Linked DNA regions of Homo sapiens: all the other regions are linked to region 4. Evidence: promoter capture Hi-C in human tissues and cell types (Jung and others, 2019). All regions are on one chromosome and are shown on one strand. The core of a region is centred on a gene start or on the middle of the fragment in contact, and the rest is flanking DNA. Distances in the headings are between cores, read along the strand shown. Region 1 overlaps PTPN13 (protein tyrosine phosphatase non-receptor type 13). Region 2 overlaps PTPN13 (protein tyrosine phosphatase non-receptor type 13). Region 3 overlaps PTPN13 (protein tyrosine phosphatase non-receptor type 13). Region 4 holds the start of PTPN13 (protein tyrosine phosphatase non-receptor type 13).

Evidence for each region. The method cuts DNA at HindIII sites, captures the fragments that hold promoters and counts their contacts. A contact is called where the count stands out against the background at its distance.
Region 1: a contact is called between a fragment that was not itself captured here and the fragment with the promoter of PTPN13 in region 4, in 3 of the 25 tissues and cell types used here (H1 embryonic stem cells, dorsolateral prefrontal cortex and hippocampus).
Region 2: a fragment that was not itself captured here is called in contact with the fragment with the promoter of PTPN13 in region 4 in 2 of the 25 tissues and cell types used here (dorsolateral prefrontal cortex and hippocampus).
Region 3: a fragment that was not itself captured here is called in contact with the fragment with the promoter of PTPN13 in region 4 in 1 of the 25 tissues and cell types used here (hippocampus).

Annotation. Positions count from the first base shown.
Region 1 is chr4:86,806,757-86,809,456 of GRCh38, forward strand. It overlaps PTPN13 (protein tyrosine phosphatase non-receptor type 13), which reads left to right. Exons shown (of 48, transcript NM_080683.3): 45 at 804-1,141. Among named protein-coding and RNA genes, the nearest start is that of SLC10A6, 41 kb to the right of the region's middle. The HindIII fragment of the contact is 5,393 bases long and covers 1-2,700 here.
Region 2 is chr4:86,751,427-86,754,126 of GRCh38, forward strand. It overlaps PTPN13 (protein tyrosine phosphatase non-receptor type 13), which reads left to right. Exons shown (of 48, transcript NM_080683.3): 20 at 1,583-1,639. Among named protein-coding and RNA genes, the nearest start is that of SLC10A6, 97 kb to the right of the region's middle. The HindIII fragment of the contact is 3,681 bases long and covers 1-2,700 here.
Region 3 is chr4:86,783,420-86,786,119 of GRCh38, forward strand. It overlaps PTPN13 (protein tyrosine phosphatase non-receptor type 13), which reads left to right. Exons shown (of 48, transcript NM_080683.3): 38 at 1,046-1,139; 39 at 1,812-1,949; 40 at 2,429-2,517. Among named protein-coding and RNA genes, the nearest start is that of SLC10A6, 65 kb to the right of the region's middle. The HindIII fragment of the contact is 4,039 bases long and covers 1-2,700 here.
Region 4 is chr4:86,592,885-86,595,584 of GRCh38, forward strand. It overlaps PTPN13 (protein tyrosine phosphatase non-receptor type 13), which reads left to right and starts at 1,431. Exons shown (of 48, transcript NM_080683.3): 1 at 1,431-1,905. It also overlaps a transcript of MAPK10 not described here. RefSeq lists an enhancer at 1,082-1,668. The HindIII fragment of the contact is 10,688 bases long and covers 1-2,700 here.

The sequences.
Region 1 (2,700 bases), core at 129-2,628, 210 kb after region 4:
CACAGTAATTACCAGTTAAATTTATAGATATTTGAAATAGAAATAGAAATAACTTCTAAGGTATGTAATACATATAAATTTATTCTCTTAGATAAATCTTAGACAATATAACCTCAGTGAATGATAGCTTGTACATACTTTTCACTGGAGCAGCCTGGTTTAAAAAATTACATTTTGACTATATGAAATTATAATAAAACAAAGATAAGGGCCTTTATGCCTGGATAATAAAATGAGCTGTTATTTTCTTTATTGTGTTAATTTATTGTTTTGGCTGCTTATTAAAAGAATATAATTTTATTAGGTGAGTGAGAGTTAATTATGCCAATAACATTTGCAATATATACTTTAATAGTGTTATTGTAATACTAAATTGTGTTCTATGAAAAATTTTTTGGCATTGCCTTTCAGTGCTATTATTATTATCATCATCATCATTAAAATAATGATGGAGAAGTACCAGTTGTTTTTCTTTGTTTCTCTAGTTACTTATTAGGCAATTCTAAATGCATTTATTAACTTACTAATTTTAATTTCAACTAAATCTATGTAAATAATACCAAATTTCATATGTCAGAAACTCACTAAACTAACAGCTTAGATACTTGTAACATGAGCAAAAAGAATAAACATAAAATAATTTGGCTGTGCTACAATTTGAAAATATACTTCTATTAAAATACGTTGGTGATTTCATCTGTGACTATGAGAATTTCTCATGATCTTTGACTCATGCAATTTGTAAGACTCTTGTTTAAAATGCATGATATGGATGGCTCTGTTTTGTGGTGGAAAATTCACAGATGATGCTACAAGAGTGCCTCTTGGAGATGAAGGTGGCTATATCAATGCCAGCTTCATTAAGATACCAGTTGGGAAAGAAGAGTTCGTTTACATTGCCTGCCAAGGACCACTGCCTACAACTGTTGGAGACTTCTGGCAGATGATTTGGGAGCAAAAATCCACAGTGATAGCCATGATGACTCAAGAAGTAGAAGGAGAAAAAATCAAATGCCAGCGCTATTGGCCCAACATCCTAGGCAAAACAACAATGGTCAGCAACAGACTTCGACTGGCTCTTGTGAGAATGCAGCAGCTGAAGGGCTTTGTGGTGAGGGCAATGACCCTTGAAGATATTCAGGTAAGTGAATGAAATCTTTCCCTGTTGGAAGGTGTATCTCCTAGTTGTAATCCAAGCCTGGACTCTTTCCGTGATTGCACCAATGTTATTTCTAGATAAAAGACAGTGACTTCCTAGTTCCCATGCAATGGAACTAATGCTAGCTATTTTTTCTTTATGTAATATAAGTTTAAATGTGACTGTCTTCATGAATTCTGCCAGTTTCCTCCAGTATGTCCTCTACTAAAATGGAAATGAAAATGCAGGACTTTTAATGTGATTATCATCCTTGGTGATAGCACAAAATGGCTCAGAAGTTGCATGTTGGAAACTTGTGTTTTTATGGTCAGACCTCTAAGTAGACTCATTGAAACTACTTTTAAAATCTTTAAGTAGAAAATATTCCCTCATAAAGGCAACTTAACATATTTAGGAATACATGGATAATTTTAGCATAAACAGTTGTTATTCAGATCATTCATACTGCAGTTACCTAACCACTGGATCAATCTAGCTTGAATTAGATAAGTGGCAATACCTGAAGTAAAGCTGCTACTGTTTCCTCACTCTGTGTTCTCCCTCACCTTACTACACGCCTGTGCACAGTATCCTAGCTAGATGTGAGTAATGTTTCCCATAGAAATTTAGCTATCTTAAGGAAACAGTGATTTTACTTTTATAGAAACAAAGCATATCAATTCAGTTCTATTGGTGTCATGTAAATGTAGCCTGAGAATTTCTCTCATAATTTTTGATTCATGATTTTTTATTGATTTACACTAGCTTACCTATTACTTAGGCTAGCACAGTTGTTCAATATTCTTCCAGTGATTTATCCACTTAATCCACACATTTTTATAGAACTCAACCCCTTTATAGAGATTTGGCAGTCAACAACACAGACAAAAAATATTTCTAACCTCATGGAGCTTACATTCTGAAGAGGAAATACCAGTATTGATAGTGCTGTGGAAAAAAATAGAGAAGGACAATTGGCTGGGGGAGAATGAGAAGTATGTCGTAATTTTCAACAAGGAGTCAGGGAAGGTATGAGAAAATGGCATTTGAGGAAAAATGTGAATGAGTTGAGTGAGCCATGGAGGGAATATCTGAGGAGAAAACCATTCCAGTCAGAAAGAGCCAGTACAAAAGTCCTGAGACCAAACTGTGCACATTGTATTTAAAGCCACAGAGAATCATTTGGCTTGATGAAAGTGGCCATGGGGAAAGAGAGGAGGAGGTGAGGTCTAAGAGGAAACAGGGCCAGATTAGGTAGTGTTGCAGTGACTCTGACTTTTATCTGAGGTGCATTTGGAATGGGGTCACCAGAAAAGGTTGTTATCAAAATGCAATTTGTTTTTAGGGTTTCCAAAAAGTAGTTTTTATCGATATTTAAAATGTGGATCTAGCAACCTTGTTGATAGAGGCCTTCCATGTTTTTCTTAATAGAGCCATTTAGTTTCTTCCACTTTTCCTTTGATCTGATCCTATAGACAAGCCAAAATTTGAAAGCACAATATAATATTAAGAATTAATTGTGGCCGGGCACAGTGGCTCACGCCTGTAATCTCAACACTTTG
Region 2 (2,700 bases), core at 78-2,577, 160 kb after region 4:
TCCCCCCACCTCAGCCTCCTGAATAGCTGTGACTACAGGAACGCAGTACCACATCTGGCTTTTTATATTTTTTTGTAGAGACAGGGTTTCACTATGTTGCCCAGGTTGGTCTTGAACTCCTGGACTCAAGGGGTCTGCCCACCTTGGCCTCCCAAAGTGCTGAGATTACAGGCTTGAGCCATCACGCCCAGTCTGTTAGCTTCTCTTGGTCACAGTTGCCATGACAGTCTTACTAAGACTGTCATGTGCCATTACTTTGGATTACCTTTTTTGGCTTTTCCTTTCAAGCCGATGTGAATGAACTCTGGTAATGCTATAGTTTTGGAGAAGCATTTACTTAGAATGCTTTCAGCTTAGCAGGAACAAAATTGTCTCTAAAACCTTAGATAATTTTATGAAATGTGCTATGGTTGATAGGTAGAAGTTTTTAAGTTGATTTCAGTTTCTTCAAATTCTCCCAGATAGCAGGGCATATTATTTAAGTGAAATTGTATGTATGTGTGTGTGTGTGTGTGTGTGCATGCACATGTGCATATATATCTATATATATGCACCTTTTAAGATGCTTACCTTTTATACATGCTACCTTTTAAGATAAATAGTTCAGGTTTCCTGTTGCCTTGTGCAACTTAAAAGGGAAACGCACTGGAGTCGATCTTTGAAAAGAATGGATGTTTAAGCACAGAGATCTGAACTACTACTCAAAATATGAAACAGCGTGGGAAACAAAAGGGAAATGAGGACTGTTTCCCTTCTGTTGTCTTACGAAATACTACTAAACTCTCTTCTTAGGCTCAAGGTTTGTTAATTTATCTCTAATTACCCAAAGTTTAAAAGCTTTTTTTATTCTATAATTGGATTCAGGGTATGTCGAGTAAATGAAGACAAAAGACAATTCTGCATTATAATACATAAATATTTATGGAAGCAACATTACTTTATTAATGTAGGCTTTCGCAACTTTCAGAGACTATACTATCAATTTAATTTCAGTCAGTTAAAAAAACTTAGATAAAAGGCAAGATTTCATTCTATAGGTAACTCTGTGTTGAAAATAGGCTAAGAGATTGATTTGATCTTTTAGGAAATACTTTTCAAAGTGTTCACATATAACGGGGCCTCATACATTCTAAACTATTTTCATTAAGAAGGCTTTGGTCTACATGAAAATTCATTACATATCCGAAGGAAAATAGTAAATACTCTATAGAAAACATAAAACACTCTTAAAGGAAATTTTTCTGCATTTTGTATTTATTCATTCTTACTGAATAATGAATATTCTTTTAACACTTGAACAAATGAAAAACTCATTCCAGTTTCATCATTTCATATTTGATATATCAAAGTATTGTCAGAAACAATATATTTGTGTTTAAATTTATGCTGCAAAATAAGTTATTATGCTTAGCTACTATTTAAAATAGTGAAAATGCCCATTGGAGGATGTTTTCTCAGTGTAAATACAAAATGTTGCTGCCTTATTGTTCTATTGATTTTTATGAGCTTATCAGAAGAAATCACTTCGATATCTAGCATCTGACCATCTTATGAAATGTCTAATATTTAATTTATGCCACAGGAATGACTATGCATAGTTCTGGAAACTCTTCATCCCAAGTACCCTTAAAAGAAAATGGTAGGTTTACAAAATGTTTTTCCCCTCATTTCCATCATTTCTTGTACCTTACTGAGATAGTCTTGGACCTAACAATGAAGAGTCTTGAGTTCCATGCCTAGGATTTGATCTTACATTGAAGTTAAAGGAGAGTTGTATTTTTCAGCATCATAATGATGTAATGGGACCTCTGATTTAGGCTAATGTTGATGAAATGACAAATTAGAGATAAGGACACTAATTGGGAAGCTAAGATAATAGTTCAGGTGGGAGATAATTTCTATTAAAAAGAGTTTTAACTGAGGCAGTTATTTTAAAGGGATGCTGGAGCTGAATTTTAGAGGGAAAGGAGGATTCATTCAGACGGAACAATAAAGATAAGCATTCCAGATCAAGGGCATAGCATGGTCAGAGACATGGAATCATGAGAAAAGAAATTTAGGGAACTGCAGGAGTCTCAGTATGGTGGCATGTGGGGGCCAGGGTAAAGTTTGAGAACTAAGTAGGGACCAGTTTTTAATCTTATGCTAAATATTATGAGGATATTTTGAAGACTTTAAATGCTGAGATTATAGTTTAGAAGGAATCTAAGAAACAAAATCGTAGGCAGAAGACCAGAAATGTCCAGTGACTTGAACATCACTGGCTTTAAAATTTTTAGAATTTAGATTGCAAAGTATTTTCATATACATTATCTTATTTGATCTTTCTAACAACTTTCATGAGTAGAAAATAATGTTTTATTACTATCCATACACTACTTTCCTCCAAAAATGTTTCAGTCTTGGACTCTTAAAGTTGAAATAATTAAAAGCCTGATGAGAAAGAAGCCATTATGTTAATTAAAATTATTAATACAGCTAAACTTGATGAAGTTGTAAATTTAGTTTCAATATTCCTGTAGCCAGGGTAAAACAGAAGGCATAAGACTGAACTATATAGAATTGCTGGGTATTTTTAGGTCAAAACTGTCAAACACCAGAGTGCTATTTTGTATGATTCTCATTCTCTAATAAAAATACACATACTAATTCTTTAAGACAGAAAAAATTTTCTTGGAATTAAAATTGCTTTTAAAAGTA
Region 3 (2,700 bases), core at 148-2,647, 190 kb after region 4:
CAGTATGTTGTTGAAAGAAAGAAGAGTTGAGTTTTTGTGAAATTAACATAAAACCCTAGAAACCAGGACTTTTGCTGTTCATGGCTGCCAGCATTTTTTGGTTGGAGTTAAAATCTTCCAGGAAGTCTCCCAAACAATACTGTGTCCTTGAATGCTAATATCTATACTATTAATTTCTCATTGAGAATGGAGTTTCATAATCCAGTGATGCTTTTTGATATTATATTACCACTATTTATTTTTTAAAATTCTATTGCATCTACCATGTGTACTTTTTATCTTAATAGAATGAGTGAAACCTTGAGAGCAAAGCACAACCTTTTATTTGTATAAAATTATTTTAATTTATTCCAAGCATTTATTTTTGCATTTTTTTCAAGTGATTTTTCTTTTGATAGGCTATGCTCCATGAAGTGCTTTACAGTTGAACATTGCATTCAAAATTTACATTCTATTCAATAATTATTCTATTGTTATGAATTCATTATTTTTCTTAAATTTATATGAGACTTAGACTAGATTTGAAAATCTTTATACCTAATAGATTATCAGGTCACTAAATTGGAGACTATATCCATGTAATACACTCACAAGTACTTGAAAAGTTGGTATTTTCTCTTTCCCTCAACTTCTAAGCTTTAATAGTCCTATTAAACTTTTTTAAAATTGTATGAAAGACAAGTCTTATAAAATTGCTTCAAAAAAGAGATGTCTACAGTCAGATATTTTAAGAAGTACTACATAATAGAGTTATCTTTTGGCAACTCAAAGTTTATATTAGCAAGGACTGTGAAAATTCCTGGAATAAAAATTTTGAGTTAATGTTGTTTCACCTAGTATTTCCAGATATATTTAATGATGGGAAGCCCCATGCCCTATGCACATTTAATTGCACTGATATTTCCTTTCAAACACTGATCTAAGGTGGAGAGATGTAAAATGGATCTTGTACTAAGAAAGAAGAGGAGAGAGACAATGTGCAGTCCCCCGATCCTGGAAGTTAGTAAAATACTATCTGATGATTTGCTTTGGTTTTATGCTTTAGGTTGCTGGGGAAGAAATAAATGAAATATCGTACCCCAAAGGAAAATGTTCTACTTATCAGATAAAGGGATCACCAAACTTGACTCTGCCCAAAGGTAGTTTTCCAAATCAGTCATCTAATTACTCTAAATGCCCTAATAATTCAGGTAATTAAAAAAAAATAGGTATCCTCTTTTCTTTGCTTTATATGTTACTGTAGCTTTAAAGGGAAAGATTATTGGTCAAATAAACAAAAGAACAATATATAAATGTCCCAGTATTCATTCTCGTCTCTGAGACTAATTTTTTTTAAATGATTGAAAAGATAGCTGCTGTGTTTTACAGTGTTTCTTGTATTTTGTGAAGTAGCAATTCACAGGCTACCTAATAGTTTAGAAAAAGTATCTTGAGGATGTTTTGTCTGATCTATTATATCCTTAATCATTGTAACATAACTTTGTTTCTTTCATAAATTAATACATTGAGAGTCATTTAAGAAAATAAACATTAAATTATTAATGCCTTGTGAAAAGCCGTATCACCAACATTGATTTTAGTTTATTCTTTGTAATTTGCATTTGTGTGGTCTTCCATCATAGCAGCCAGGGTAGTTTTAGAACTAAAAATGACTGGATCACATTAGTGTAAACTACTTTTCCAGTCATTGCTACTTTTAAAATTGGTTGCTTAAAATTTGAAAGCACCTAGCAAATTCTGTTTAACACCTTGTCCCTTTCTCGTGTCAATATTTTTAAAGTAAAACCCCATGTAAATTATTATTTTTCAAGAATCTTATATACAAGAAGATGACATTTATGATGATTCCCAAGAAGCTGAAGTTATCCAGTCTCTGCTGGATGTTGTGGATGAGGAAGCCCAGAATCTTTTAAACGAAAATAATGCAGCAGGATACTCCTGTGGTCCAGGTACGTGAACCAGATGAATAAATTGGTATACTATGGAGTACAAAAACGTCTCTAGGGAGCATTTTTTGAGTAAATATGTAATGCATTAGTTCTTCTTCTGTTCCTCATTCATGTGTAATATTTCAGAAACAAAACAGAATTTGTTATCTCCTATTTTTTTTATTTTCCATATTTGTAAGTGGGTTACCTTATTAGTGAGATCTCCAAATGTATCATTTATATCATGGCTTTTACTTCTAGTAGGGTTAGTCCAAACATTTTCCCCCAGCCATTCTCATTTTAATTTTAGTAGATAATTTTAACCAGAAATTTTATACCAAAATGTACTTGATCATTTCTTCCTAACTTTTCTAGTTAAAACATTGAAACTATTTATGGATATTGGTTTATACACTGCCTTCTTTTGCAGGCAAATGAAAACTTTTCTACTTCCTCAATAGTTTTATAAATTCCTCTTGGCCTATATATTCCTCTCTCAGGTACATTAAAGATGAATGGGAAGTTATCAGAAGAGAGAACAGAAGATACAGACTGCGATGGTTCACCTTTACCTGAGTATTTTACTGAGGTAACAATAATACCTAAACAACCTAGGATATGACAGCTTGTTACAATTATGGGTTTAACCCAGAAGGTGAAATAATCAGAGATTCTTTCCTGTTTTACTCAAAAATTAAATTTAGGAGGAAAACGGAGATTAATTTCATGTGTTACATTAAAGTGTCATCCTATCCTAGTGAAAGAATCATTA
Region 4 (2,700 bases), core at 181-2,680:
TGGCTGCACATTTTAGCTATAATTGTTCTCAAATTGTTTCAAGAGTGCTAGTTTTCTTTCTTAGGCTCCAGGTTAGCTCCTTGGGAGCGGGGACTTAGCTTAAAATCCTGCTGTGTATTTTCCGTTGTGTTTAGCCCTATGAGTAATCACATTCAATGCATACTTGTAAGGCATATTTGACTGAAGATATCTATCATAGTTATTCATTTAGTAAATGATATAATGAAAACTCAAGTGCTCGCCAAAGATAAATCATTACTATTAATTCCCTCATTCATCATACATGTATGGCAGCCTCAGGGGCTAGGGAACCTAGGATTGCTGCTTTGACTTTTTTTGGGGAAGCCAAATAAGCCTCAGATCTCTCCACTTTGGAGCCAGCCATGAAATTCAGATTTACCTAGGGCTCAACATTAAGGGTCTCAGACTAAATTTATCTTCAGGTACCCTTTCCAGAGTGGACCAGTTTACCTTATACCTCTGAGAATAACCCAAAACTTTCAAAACTCAAATCACAGGATATTATTTGTTCATGAATTCAGCAAGACTCTCTTGTTTAACTATTGAAACTCAAATATTTCGGCTTGCAGCAAGGAGGGGTACAGCTGTCTGGATATACCTTGGCCAAATTTCAGTGTATATAGAAAAGTGGGAGGTTATCGACTATGTTAAACCTTTTCCTTAAATTTTCAAACTTCGGGATTATTTTAGTCTCATAGATAAAATAACAAGGCAAGTATTTACAAACTTTTTTCAAAAATATGAGAATTTCAGTTTTCCCTAGGGCATTTGGCGTTGTGCTGTCACCACACTTTTGAAGATAGCTTTACAACCGTGGGAAAACTCACCGGGCTTTTTTCGTTGACCCCGCCATTTCTAAGTTGCTATATTGCTGCAAGGAGCTGGCAAAGCCATGCTCTTCCTCTCCCCCATTCTCCTCTTCCTTTCAAAGACCAAAGCGCCCCGTGAGAATATAGAAACAAGGCTGAGAGGCAGCGAAGAGTAAGGGAGGAGCCAGCACTTACGCATTTTTCACTCTCCTCCTCACTCCCTAGGGTCATAGTTTTGATTCTGAAGTTAGAAGTGTGGGGGTCGTCGGCTGCATTTTCAACTTGGCCTAAAAGTTGGAGTTCACCACACTGCAGGCGCTAGGAACTCTGCCGCTCGGTCACCAACCTGAGCCTCTGGCTAGTCCGAAGAACGCGAAAAGCCAGGCCCAAGGCACTGGTTGTCATGGCAACCGGGGCGCTGGTCTCCCTGGCGACCTCGTCCCTAGGGAGGAGGTGGAGCTGGATGCCAGGCGGGCCAATGAGGTCGAGGGGAGCTCGGGGTGGGAGATCTGCGGTCCTCCCAGTGCCGGGGAATGGTTGAGTGACAGGACCGGGGGGGCGGAGCCGGCGCGGCTGCCCGAGGTGGAGCCCCAGTGGTGCGAGTAGCTCCAGCGGCCACGCTGAGGCGAGGGTGACACACCATGCTCACGGCCCCTGGAGACCGTCGTGCTGGCGAGCCGTGCTCCGTAGCTCCCCGGTCCGCCTCGGCAGCGGTCAGAGTCGCCTACAGGAGTTGAGCCGCCCGCGCCAGAAGGTTTTGGCGAAGCTCTTGGAGAGGCGTCGAGCACAGTAGGGCGGCGGGGGTGCGTTGAGCGCTCGGGGGTCAGGCAGTCGGCCGGGATCGCCGCTGGGGAGCGTTTCCGAGGCGAGGAGGAGGAGGAGGAGATGCTGCTCCTCTTCTCCCCCTCCCCAGGCTCCTTCTACAGCTCCTTCAGCCCACGCCCGCAGCCGCTTGTGGGAGAAGTGGTGGTGGCTCTCGGCGCCCGCGGCGGCTGCCGGCGGCCCGCCCCGACGCCGCGTCCCTGCAGCCCTCGCCCGGCGCTCCAGTAGCAGGACCCGGTCTCGGGACCAGCCGGTAAGGACGAGAGCCGCCCTGGGCTCTGCGCTGCATGTGCAGAAGTGCAAAACAAAGTACATTGCGCTCGTTCTCTTCCTCCTCTCTCTGCTTTCGCTCCAGTCCCTAAACCCAACTCCTCGGTTGCCCTGGTAGAAGGAACTTTTCTTTGGTTTTGGTGGTGGGTGTTTTTGTACGTTAGAGTGGGGGTGGGGTGACTGGAGTGGGGAAGAATGAGATGAAACTCCATTGCTAATTAGGTAGATCCATCTCCTCTGCGGAAGAAAGCCGGATTCTCGGGAATGAAACCCACAGGGGGAGTAAGAGATTGTGGGGTAATAGGGAGTGACATTGCCCCGTCGTGCTTGCACAGCTCCGCTCTGTGCGTGCTTAAGGGAAGGGCTCCCGGAGTCTGTTTCTAATTTCTGCAAATGATTGTGGAGATGGTGTGGTTAGAGGCCGCCCAGAAGAATGTGTGTGTAAGGGCTCGAGAAGGGGGTGGGATGGCGGGGAAGCAGAGGAAGAGGGGGCAGAGGGAGAGACACTGTCTGATGCAAGGTCTTTTATTGCTTTTCTTCTGCTTGCTAAAGTTAACACTCTACCCTCCGGCCCCCTAGCCCCACCGCTTTGCTCATTACGTGATACTGTAAGAGCAGACAGCTGGGAAGCTAAAGTTAAACCAAAGTCAAGAAAATTCTTACAAAGTTTAATTTCCTTCTGTTGTGAATATAATGGAGAGAGGAGGATGGGGAGAAATATCACTAAGAGATTTACAGCAATACAGTTTTCATTGGCCATACACGTATATGATCGACA